3 separate regions of the Homo sapiens genome follow, and regions 1 and 2 are each linked to region 3. The links are contacts of gene promoters, found by promoter capture Hi-C in human tissues and cell types (Jung and others, 2019). All regions are on one chromosome and are shown on one strand. Each heading gives the region's core, a stretch centred on a gene start or on the middle of the fragment in contact. The rest is flanking DNA. Distances are from core to core; before and after follow the strand shown. Region 1 overlaps GSTZ1 (glutathione S-transferase zeta 1). Region 2 overlaps TMED8 (transmembrane p24 trafficking protein family member 8). Region 3 holds the start of ZDHHC22 (zDHHC palmitoyltransferase 22).

Region 1 (3,997 bases), core at 1,362-3,861, 190 kb after region 3:
CAGATTTTCTTTGGGCTGCACAGAACCTGTCTGTCCTGAAGCAAGTGGGAGAGGAGATGCAGCTGACCTGGGCCCAGAACGCCATCACTTGTGGCTTTAACGGTGAGTCCTCACCTCTGTGAGCTGCCCCACAGTGGCCTCTTAGAGGTATGGCCCTCGCACACAGGGGCCTGGGTATCTGAACCAGCCTCCCAGGCTGCTTTGGGCCTGACAGTTGCATGGATGAGGGCAGGACTGGGGAGGCAATGGGCTGGGTGGGCATCCAGACCTTAGCTCCAGCACTTCTGGGAACCTCGGTCCCTGAGCCCACAGCCCTTCATAGCTGGATGGCCCAACTTCAGCTTCACTGCCTACTCCAGCTGGGAAACCAAGGCCAGCACAGCGCCAGCCATCAGAGTGAGAGCTGTCACCGTGGCCAGTGGCAGGGCTTGTCCACTCGAGTGGGGAAATGGTGATTGTCTGTGCGGAGCCTCAGGAAACAGCAGCTCATCCCTAACAGCTCTCTCGAGACCTGGCTGCCACATTCTCACCAGCAGCCATGCCCAGTCTGTCACTCAGTTGGGCGCCCATTTCATAACTATGGAGGCCAAGGCCCAGAAAGCTTTGTGTCCCCTCCCTGCGCCCAGAATAAGATGTTTATGTGGCCTCCCCACAGCCCTGGAGCAGATCCTACAGAGCACAGCGGGCATATACTGTGTAGGAGACGAGGTAAGCTGTCCCCAGACCTCCCCAGGCCCAGCCACAGTGGCTGCCTCCCTCATGCTGACCTCCCTCAAGCTCAGAGCTTCCTGAGAAGGCGTCTGCAGGGGGATCTCTGTGCCATGGGGCACTCCTCAGCTCACTCCCACTAAACCGTCTTAAGAGGGAGTTACTCAAGGTAGAAGACTGGCTGTGAGAGGATGAGGCGGGCCAGCATCAGTTGAGGGATTGTGCTAGATGATGTCTGCGCAGTCAAGGCAATCCATCTTCTCTGGCCCTCTCAACCCACAGAGTTGGTTGTCAGGGCAACTGGAGCATGGCCTGGGAGGGCACTTCAGCTCCGGGGGACAGACTCATGCAGGCCTAGGGCAGACAAGAATTGGAGGTGGGATGGGTGAAAGAGCCGAAGCAGATTGTTGGTACCCCCAGTAGAGTCGCAGTGGACACACCCAGTCCAGCCACTGACTCTGGGGTATGCACCCTGATGGGAACCCACCGGGACCTCTTTCAGGTGACCATGGCTGATCTGTGCTTGGTGCCTCAGGTGGCAAATGCTGAAAGGTAAGAGAGAGCCCCGCCACCCTCCCTTCTCGTGGCTCTGCCCACAGTCAGGCCCCACTCAGCTGGCGAGATAGCATCTCATGCAGACGCTTCGCCAACCAGCCAAGGAGCCCACCATGCCAGGCCACATAGCCACTTCTGCCTGGAAGAGGGCAGAAGAAATTGGGGCAGTGCTCCTACTACGCCCACCACAGCCCAGATGAACCTGTATAGATAGCCCCAGCTCCTAAGAGGAGGTGGCTCACCTGGTGGACCCCCAAGAGCACCTGCCTGATGTCCTCAAATGTGGTGTGTCTGTGAGCAGTAGTGAGCTCTACCTCTGCATCCTTCCGTGAACCCTTTGGTAGGGCACAAATGAGCACCTCTCTGGAAGGCATCATGCTAGGCGTTAGGGATATGGAAACGTATGGCACATTCCCTGCCCCCAAGAAGCTTACAACATGGGGGAAGAGAGTCTGTATATATAAATGCCTAGCACTGGGCCTTACACATAGCAGGTTCACAAAGAAATAGGAACAGTAGGTAACAGATGCCAAATGATACTGCACAAGACCTACCCATCCCCTGTGAATAAGGGCTGCCCCATCGTCCTTCCCTGGACAGCTCCCTCGACCTCATCCAGCCCTGCCTCTCTGCTCCCCCTGCTGCATCAGGGCAGTCTCCCTGTGTCCCTGAAAACCTTAGCTTAGCAGGTGTTTCTCTACTACAGATTCAAGGTGGATCTCACCCCCTACCCTACCATCAGCTCCATCAACAAGAGGCTGCTGGTCTTGGAGGCCTTCCAGGTGTCTCACCCCTGCCGGCAGCCAGATACACCCACTGAGCTGAGGGCCTAGCTCCCAAATCCTGCCCCGTTGGCACAGGGCCACAGGAGCAGAAGCTGGGTGGGCTGAAGAGGCCTGGAAACGAGAGTCTTAATTGAGGAGATGGGAGACTCGAACTCTAGCCCTGGATCTGCCTTCCTGCTGAAACTTGTTCCACCTCAGTCCCCTCATCTGTCACACGCATGTGGGGTGGAGTAGGGAGATGCGGGGAGCAGGGTGGGCAGGAATACTGTTATCTATGTGACGGGGCAGTCGTGAGGCTGAGATGAGAATGCGGATTAAAATGCCTGGCGTGCTCACCGTAACACCACGGGGAAGGCTGTGTGCCTTTTCTCATCCGCTTTTGTTGTGTGTGACTCCAAAGAATGCCCGCGCTGAAATTTGGCGTGAATTAAACTGAAGCCCAGGCCTCTACCTTGTTTGTCTAAGACTGAGCTAGGTTCCAGAAGATGAACACTGTCCCTAGCTGGAATCCCCTGTGCCTGGACCAGTAGAGGAAGTCAGTCAGCCACTTGCCTACCCTGTGGCAGGCCTGGCCCATGGGACCTAAGGGCAATGATGAGAAATATACCCAAAAGCCTGCCTGAAAGAATCAGACAAGATCCAGGGAGATAACAGATAGAAGCAGGAAAGCATCTAGTGACTGGCTGAGTTCTCAGGGCTAGGAATGGTACCGTTGTTAAATGTTCCACTCCAGGCTGGGCGCAGTGGCTCATGCCTATAATCCCTGCACTTTGGGAGGCCGAGGCAGGTGGATCACTTGAGGTCAGGAGTTCAAGACCAGCCTGGCCAACATGGTGAAACCCCGACTCTACTAAAAATACAAAAATTAGCCGGGTGTAGTGGCAGGTGCCTGTAGTCCCAGCTGAGGTGGGAGAATGGCTTGAACCTGGGAGGTGGAGGTTGCAGTGAGCCGAGATTGCACCAGTGCACTCCAGCTTGGGAGATAGAGTGAGACTCCATCTAAAAAAAAAAAACATATTCCACTCCAGCACTGAGAGGCCATTTGGCCCTCTCAACCAGTCCCTCGTCTTCAGGGCCAGCATTCTCCAGACCAGTCCCAGGATTAGGCACTCGGGGTAAATCCAGTCACAGATGGTGCTGGGAATGGGAGGCAGGCTCCCCCGTGGGCAGTGTGAGCAGCTACTGACCAGGCCAGCTTAGGAGACCAAGCAGGTAGCAGTGTACCACAGGCTGCCCTGGAGGGAGCAAGTTCCCATGCTTGGCAGTGTTCAGGCAGAACCAGGACCACCTCTGGGCAGAGATGCCGTACAGAGATTGGGGTAGCTTCTGGGGATGAAATGAGATGACTTTTTAGGAGCTTTACCTCTTGAAGGCCCCACCTCTGAATACTGTTGTATTGGAGATTAAGTTTCAACATGAATTTTAGAGGGGACATAAACATTTAAATCGTAGCAAAGACCATCACCTTTTTACAGGACATTTTCCAGTAGGGGCTTCTCTCAAACGGATGAGTGGTAAGTCAAGTCCTTCCTTTCCATATCACACTCAGCAGACACCTGATCCTGATATGCTAGAGGCACAGGGAGACTAGATATGTACGTGGTCTTCCCAGAGTGGGAGTGGCCACAGTGAAGGAAGAACAATGATGGAGGGGCCTGATACTGGTAATTCCAACTCTATGGAAGTAACAAGTCCCCAGAAATACTTCAGGAGGAGGAAAGCAGTAGGGAGGTGCTATCAGGAAATACCTGAGAACAAAGCAAAAATTATAGGCTGTGTTCCTCAGAAATTTTACATATCCATTAAGGAAAGTGGCAAACTTACTGGATAAACAGGTGATACACATACTCATACTATTTTTTTTTATTTTTATTTATTTATTTTTTTTTTGTGATGGAGTCTTGCTCTGTCATGCCCAGGCTGGAGTGCAGTGGTAAGAGCTCAGGTTC
Region 2 (4,047 bases), core at 173-2,672, 230 kb after region 3:
GGTTAACTCCAGTTTGGGGCTATTATGAATAATGCTGCTATGAATATTCTTGTGTCTTGGCTACAGTGCATACATTTATGTTGGATATAAATGTCAGAATGGAAACGGTTAAGTCATAGAAATTTGAATGTTAAATTTCAGTAGATAATGCCGAACTATTTTCTAAAGGGGTTGTACCAAATATAATGCTACCAGCATTGTAGCATCATTTCATTACTCTGGACCTTCTCTGACACTTGGTCATGTTAAAATTTTTTTGGGGGGCCATTCTGGTAGATGTATGCTAATTTAGTTTGTATTTCACCAATGACTCGTATTTCTTGGCCATTTAAAAATCTTCTTTTGTGAAGTGCCTCTCCAAGTCTCTTGCCAATTTTATTACTGGATTGTCCTTTTTATTATTTATTTATTTATTTATTTATTTTTGAGACGGAGTCTCACTCTGTCACCCAAGTTGGAGTGCAGTGGCATGGTCTCGGCTCACTGCAACCTCCGCCTCCTGGGTTCAAGAGATTCTTCGGCCTCAGCCTCCCTAGTAGCTGGGACTACAGGCACGTGCCACCACACCCAGCTAATTTTTGTATTTTAGTAGAGACAGGGTTTCACCATATTGGCCAGGCTGTTCTCGAACTCCTGACCTCATGATCCGCCCACCTTGGCCTCCCAAAGTGCTGGGATTACAGGCATGAGCCACCAAGCCCAGTCCCTTTTTATTATTTATAGGAGTTTTAGATACAAACCTTTTGTCAGGTATATGTATTATAATTACCTGCTTCCACTCTGTGACATGACTTTTCCCATTTAATGGTGGCCTTTGATGAACCAAAGTACTTTTGTGTACTCAAAATTTATCAAATTTGCCTTCCTTAGTCTTTGTATGTCCTGTCTAAGATGTCTTTCACTATATTGAGATCCGAAAATATTCTCCCATATCCTATAGGTAGGTGCTTATGTACTACCTTTCACATACTGTTCTATAATCTACCGAGTTGATTTTTTGTGTATGATGTGTGAGGTAAAGATTACGTTTCTTTACTTTCCTTTCTCTTAGAATATTCAATTGTCCCAGAAACATTTACCTTACCTTACCCACTGCTCTATGTTAACAATCTTTGTTGCAAAGCAAGTGTCCGTATAAACATGTTTCTAAGCTTTTGATTCTATTCCTAGAGCCTGACTACTCTTTAAAAACTTTAAAATAAGTCTTGATGTTGGATGGAACAAATCTTTCCCTGTTGTCTTATTCAAGAGTGTCTTTGCTATTTGTGGCCTTCTATTTCTATATGTATTTTAGAACCAGCTTGTCAAAGCCACCCAAAAATCCCAATTCATGAACTTAGCTGTTTCTGAAGCTGAGTTGCACTCCCTGCAATGACCTACTTTTAGGGCATGGCCTTTCATGGCCCTAACCCAAAGGAAATGGAGTTCACCAGGCTCCCCCTTGACGGGTCCTGAACACTAATCCATTTCCTGTTACTTTAGTTCAAAGAGGCACTTTTCATGACCTTGTCACTCAGCTTCCCCACTCAGGAATCCAGCATGTACCCTCAGGAGACAAAAGAGCCCCAAAATAGACTCTTGTCCTTGGATCTCTATAGCTCTCACATGGATCACAGCTAGGTAATTCTTCATGATCTTTCTATCTCTCCAGTATCTTCCAGCAGATGTTTATATTTCACCCATATTTTCTAATTGTCCCTGATGAGAGATAATTACCTAGTCTGCTATTACTGAAAACAGAAATCCATATTGCCTATTTACCCATATCAATCTGAATATACCTTAGTGAATAAAATAGAAACAAAAATAGTTCTGCCCTCTGCCAGGCACGGTGGCTCATGCCTGTAAGGGAGGCGGAGGCGGGAGGGCCGAGGCGGGCAGATCACAAGGTCAGGAGTTCGAGACCAACCTGGCCAGCATGGTGAAACCCCATCTCTACTAAAAATACAAAAATTAGCCGGGCGTGGTGGCACATGCCTGTAATCCCAGCTACTCGGGAGGCTGAGGCAGGAGAATCGCTTGAACCCAGAAGGCGGAGGTTGCAGTGAGCCGAGATCACACCACTGCACTCCAGTCAAGGCGACAGAGCGAGACTCCGTTTCAAAAAAAAAAAAAAAAAAAAAATTCTGCCCTCTCTCTGTCATTGATTAATAATATCAGTTTATCTACTATGTCTATCCCCCTTTGGCTTATCCTGTCCTTTGGATCGTAATGAAGACTTCAAAAAGGTTAAATTTTTAGACAGAAATGAAACTAGCACAAAAATAATGAAAGACAGTAGTGGATTTAAAGAATAACAAAATTAATCTCTAAGGAGACTTATAACCTTTTATAAAAAAATTCACTGAGAGAAAAAGGTCTAGAAAATGTCAGTTCCTGATGAGCAGAAACAGAATACAGACCTATAGAAAGGCTCTTATTTAGGATATAGACATAGTGAAGTCTCATGCCAAGTTTGTGTGTGTGTCTATCTATGTACACATATATTTATATATTTTAAAGACTATTTTTATTAACTATTTCTGAATAATTTATCCACATTATTCAAAATTCAAAAAGCATATAAGTATACAGTGAAAAATTTCCTCCCATGTCAGTCCCTACCTCCAAAAGCAATCAATGTTATTTGGTTTTGTGTAGTCTTCCAAAGATGTTTTATGCATATAAAAAAAAGTGTGTGTGTGTGTGTGTGTGTGTATACTTTTTCACTTTTTTACACAAAAAATGGGCATGCTTAGGCGTGGTGGTGCGTGCCTGTAATCCCAGCTACTTGAGAGGCTGATGCAGGAGAATCGCTTGAACCCGGGAGGCGGAGGTTGCAGTGAGCTAAGATCACGCCATTGCACTCCAGCCTGGGCAACAGTGCGAGACTCTGTCTCAGAAAAAAAAAAAGGTCGGGGGGAGCATGCTGGACATACTACTGTGTACTTTGTTCTTTCCACTTATATCTCAAAGACCTTTCCATAACTGCACATGAAAAGCTTCTTCATTCTTTTCTACAGCTGATTAGTATTTCATTGGGTGAATATTCCATAATGTATTACCATTACAAACAATGCCATAATAACCTTGTATCTATGTCATTAAACAGGAGAATAAATAAATCTATAATTCCTGGAAAGAATGAGTCAAAGGGGCATATATTGTAATTCTGATGGATATTGACAAGTTGCCCTCCACAGAATCTGTACCAATTTACAATCTCATTAGCAAAGCATGAGAGTGTCTGCTTCTGCACACCGACCAACAAAGTGAGTTAGCAAACTACCAAGTGTAGTTAGGATTTCCAATTCCCTTATTATGATTTAGGTTGAGCATTTTTCACATGGTAAGCACCACTTCTCATAGCATTTTAACAACTTAATGTATACTGGAAAAAAATATGCTTTTGATTTTTTTTCTTTCCATCCCATAAGGAGTTGAGCTTTTGATTTTTAACTTTAAAGGAATGCCCTAAATTATTTTTAATTTTAAAGAATGCCCTAAATTACATAAGAACTACTGGTAAAACAACTTATAATTGGATTCAGAGAGGCAGGAAGTAAGAAAAGGAGAAAGAAAAACATAACTTTATTTCCAGAAGTATAAAGTGTGGGAGATGCAGCGCTGTTTCAGTGAGAGAGAATTATGAGCACAGCCTTTTAGGTTTCCTGAAGTTCTTCAGTGAAATTTAAGCCACTATGCAGAAGAAAAAGCCAATTTTCCTATAGTATAGCTTTTATTATATTAGCCAAATATAAGCCAATTCTGAAAGTATTCCTAGAAGAGATCAGAGAAATCAGGCCAGACTTTGCAAATTTAGATGGTATGTGGGGAAATGTTTTTTATTTTTAAAAATATGTATTCTAGTATATATTAAGAAAAATGGATATATCAAACTAGTAATATCGTAGGTATTATTTAGAATGAAACTTTTAAGTGTCAATCAAAATGTCAATTAAATGTCAATGTCAAGAAAAAATAGTAAATAACTAATACTGTAACGGTATTCTCCAGTGTGGCAAAGTCATTACCATGGTTCCTCAGTGGCCGAAATCTCGGAAACAA
Region 3 (3,795 bases), core at 1,164-3,663:
TGCTGCCGATGCAGTTGCCGGTGAAGAAACAGTGATGGTCGTGCCTCAGGGTGACTCTGGCGCACACTCGGCAGAAGTGGGTGCTAGGTGAGGGGCATGGAGTCTTCCTGGCCGAGGCCCCCTGGCAGGCCCCCAGGTCGTCTGGGGAGTTCTGGATGACAAGGACGTAATTGCCCAGGGCGTTGGCCGAGAGGAATAGGAAGAGCGCCCCGTGGAGCAGGGCGGGCGAGAAGAGCCGGGCGGCCGCGGGGTCCTCGCGCATGCTGGGCAGGAAGAGGAAGAGCTGCAGCACGAAGGTCACCAGGGAGATGCACAAGAAGTAGGCGGGGGCCACCACGTTGAGCAGCCGCAGGGCCAGCATCCTCGATTACATTCCTGCGGGGCCCGGGGTGAGAAGAGGACTGACTGACTACGGCGTCCAGGGGGCGCCCTCGCCCGCTCCTCCGTGCCGCGCGTCTGGGGCACTGCACGCGACTCCACGCCCCCAACCCCCTGTCCCGCGGATTTCCCCTCCCCAGTTCCCTAACCCCGGATCAGGCAGGCCAGAGACCCGAGCCCGCAGCGGCCTCGGGTCTAGGCCCCACCTGGGGGTGAGTGTTGCCTGGGGTTTTGAGCGAGCTCGGCGCCTTGGCGCGGCAGAGTCTGGCACAGGAGGGAGGGACTCGTTTGCAGTCTTTAGGAGTTGTGAGGGTGGGGGGCACCGGGGGATAGGACTCCTCCCCTCTGTGGATGTGGAAACAAGCCCAGGTTTGGGATTTCTGGTTCAGACCTCCCTAGGAGGAGAAAGGGAAGGATTTGGGGTCGGGGGCAGGAGAATCAGCGGCACTTGACCTGCTGGAAATCCTGCTTCACACTCCCCTTTCTCCGTCCCTGCGTCCCCACCCACACACACATCTTGGGCAGCACTCAGGGACCTCACCAGGTTACCCAAGGCTCTTTGGAGGTATGTGTGCGTGAGGGACCACGATGTGTGTGTGTGTGTCCTTGTCTGTGACTCTGTACGTGTAATCTGTGTGCGCTTGAGTATCTGTATTTGTGTATGTATATATCTGCGTGTACAGACACGCAGCCTCTGCTATCTAGCTTTAAAAAAATCAATTGAAACAATCGATACACTCACACTCGCTCTCGGGCACCGGGTGAGGTGGGGGCGCAACCAGAATACCTGTGTCAGCGGGTCCTGGCCAGCACATCTCTCCAACGCTGGCTGCCCGGGCTATTTCTTTGCGAAGAGCGTTTTCATTTGAGGCGAAATTAAAATCCCCCCTTCGCGCCCGCCTCCCGCCCTCCTGCTGAGAGAAACCCAAACAACCCTCATGGCGCCGAAATCCTTTCCATGCCGACAAGCCCGCCCTGGGCGCACGAGTGGATGCTTGGCCAGCCTTTCCTGGGATCGACCCCGCCGCCGTGCTCAGCCCTCACCACGTCCCCATCCCACCCCACGCCTCACAGCCGGGGTTCCTGGCCAGCTTCGGAAGCCACCGAGAAATAGGATTCCGTGCGCCCGAGAGAACTTTTCCAGGGGCTAAGGAATCGGCCAGCCGGAGGCGCGAGAAAAGTTCTGGGAAGGCGGTTGCACCTAGGATGGGTGGATGCCACGGGGCCTCCGTCCAGGCTGTCCCGTCCGCACGGGTCGACTGGTCACCTTGGAATCCCCTTTGCAGGTCCCAGCGCCCCCCGGGAACCCGCAGCCTCCGCGGAGAGCGTGGGCCTCTCCCTACCGCTGGGGCGCAGCGCAGTGCACGCCTGAGGGTGGTCGCCGGGGGCTGGGCACGCCCCCAGTCCTGCGCCGCCGGGGGCTGCGGCGGTGCTGCCCACCCCAGAGAGCCCTCGGCCTGGGGCTCCGGCGAAGCAAGTGCCTTCCCGGCGCCGGTCGCCAGGGGGGCGCGGGAGCAGCCAGATGCGCCGCAGCGCTGGGAAGGCGGCGAAGGACAGGGGCTAGGGGAGTGAGGGGCGCTCGGCAGGCAGCCTCAGCCCTGGCCCTGCGCGGGAGAAGGGACAGCAGAGACCGCCCGTGGGGCCCCGGGGTGTAGGGAGCTGTCCGTTCAGCCCTGGCGCCCGCCTCGCCCGCGGCAGAGGGCGGCACAGCCGGAGCCTTGGAAAGACCGGCAGCGCCGGCAGCCGCGGGCTTCTCGGCCACTGCCTCCCGGACGCACGGGAAGCCGCCCCCCGCGCCGCCGCCGCCGCACTGCCGCCGTCGCAGAGGGGTGAGGAAATCAACTCACCGAGCTCTGGTCGCCGACAAGAGGAGCCCCGGACGCCGGCTCTCGCCCTGCCCGAGGCTGCAAAGTTGTGGACTCGGCCCGGCTGGCTCGCAGCCTGCGCTTCGCTTCGGGAACTGGGCAAGTAGCGGGGATGTGGGGAGGAGGGAGCGGGCAGCTGCTGGCTTCCCACTTGGGCGCCAGCGAGTAAGGGCCAGGAAGCGGCGGGGATGGCAGCTGGGCACCCCCCAGCCCCGCCACCCCTCCCTCCGCTCCTGGGGGCGGTGCTCTGGCCGCCAGTCTCAGCATCGTGGACTTGCCCCCTCCTCCCCTCTCGATTCCCCTTGAGCGGGCTGGGGCGCCCTGCCTGGTTTCAGCGCCCGTTCCAGCTGGGAGATTGGGATTCAGCCCTGATGTGGATTCTCCAGCCATCATCCTGCCCTTCCCTCTCGGCTAGGTCCCACGACCTTCCCTGCTCTCCACTCGGACTGAAGGAACCCTGGGGGCTTGAGAGGTCAGCTTGCCAGGGCAACACCCATGAAGATCAGCGTCATCTCCTCGGAAGGGCTGTGTACAGAGGGTTGGGAGTTGGGACTCTGGAGCCTGTCTACCTGGGTTTGAATATTCACCATTCACTACTGTGAGATCTCAGATTCCAGTTTCTTCGTCTGTAAATTCCAGTGTGATCTTAGATTCCAGTTTCCTCATCTGTGAAATAGAGATATGAGGGTTAAATGACAATCTATGTAAAACCCTTAAACAGGGCCTGCCCAGGGCAAGCACTGCTTGATTAGATCATAATTAGACACTACTTATCGGGCCCCTACTAGGTAGCAGGCATTGTGCTAAGCCTTTAGCATAAGATGCTTCCTTAATCCTCTCAGCCTGATCTGTGAAGCTGGCTGAGCCCCATTCTGGAGATGAGGAGGTTGAAGCTCAGAGAAGCTAAGTCTCATGTCTAAGGTCATACAGCCATTAAGTGACAGAGCCTGGACTTGAACCTGGTTCTAGCATTAATGCTCCTGCACTCAGCCTCTACACAGCCCAGCATCACCCTGGGACCCACGGGCAGCTCTGATTTGAGAGAAGGAAAGACAATGGGAGTTTATCCAGACACAGAGCTTGAACTTGGAGCTTCTTCTTTGAGCCTCACCCCCACCTTCTTATTTCTATTTCCTTCCCCTTCCAGGGCTCCGCTATTCTAAGGTGGGTACTGTGATGCGCCAAGAGGGTAGTGACACCAATGTGTATCAAACAGTGGGGGGTGGGGGGAGCAGAGCCTTAAAAACATCAAACACTGCAGGAATATTGGTGCCATCACCATCCTCAATTTCCTGGGTGTCGCAGCTCACCTACCTGCCCTGTTCCTCTCCTCTCGGTGATGGCATACTTAATAAATAAACATTTATTGCTTTCTCAACTGGCTGATTAAAACAAGAGCAATCCCTTGAAATGAGGGCCATATGCTGATCAGCTCAGCCTCTATTCTTGAATAACCACACACTGTTTCCTCTGTAATTTATCAGCATACATCAAAATAAAAAAGAGGCCAGGAAACCTTTTCACATTCTAAAAGGATCTGACATGTAAGTGA

Evidence for each region. The method cuts DNA at HindIII sites, captures the fragments that hold promoters and counts their contacts. A contact is called where the count stands out against the background at its distance.
Region 1: a fragment that was not itself captured here is called in contact with the fragment with the promoter of ZDHHC22 in region 3 in 1 of the 25 tissues and cell types used here (dorsolateral prefrontal cortex).
Region 2: a contact is called between a fragment that was not itself captured here and the fragment with the promoter of ZDHHC22 in region 3, in 2 of the 25 tissues and cell types used here (H1 embryonic stem cells and dorsolateral prefrontal cortex).

What each region holds. Positions count from the first base shown.
Region 1 is chr14:77,329,100-77,333,096 of GRCh38, forward strand. GSTZ1 (glutathione S-transferase zeta 1) reads left to right here. Exons shown (of 9, transcript NM_145870.3): 6 at 24-102; 7 at 656-708; 8 at 1,211-1,260; 9 at 1,970-2,498. The coding sequence ends at 2,096. Among named protein-coding and RNA genes, the nearest start is that of GSTZ1, 10 kb to the left of the region's middle. RefSeq lists an enhancer at 503-1,702. The HindIII fragment of the contact is 8,017 bases long and covers 1-3,997 here.
Region 2 is chr14:77,368,070-77,372,116 of GRCh38, forward strand. All of the region lies in intron 1 of TMED8 (transmembrane p24 trafficking protein family member 8), which reads right to left. Among named protein-coding and RNA genes, the nearest start is that of TMED8, 7.0 kb to the right of the region's middle. The HindIII fragment of the contact is 7,125 bases long and covers 1-4,047 here.
Region 3 is chr14:77,139,378-77,143,172 of GRCh38, forward strand. It overlaps ZDHHC22 (zDHHC palmitoyltransferase 22), which reads right to left and starts at 2,414. Exons shown (of 3, transcript NM_174976.2): 1 at 2,226-2,414; 2 at 1-375. The coding sequence starts at 361. RefSeq lists enhancers at 118-667, 805-1,368, 1,369-1,932, 2,027-2,528. The HindIII fragment of the contact is 26,670 bases long and covers 1-3,795 here.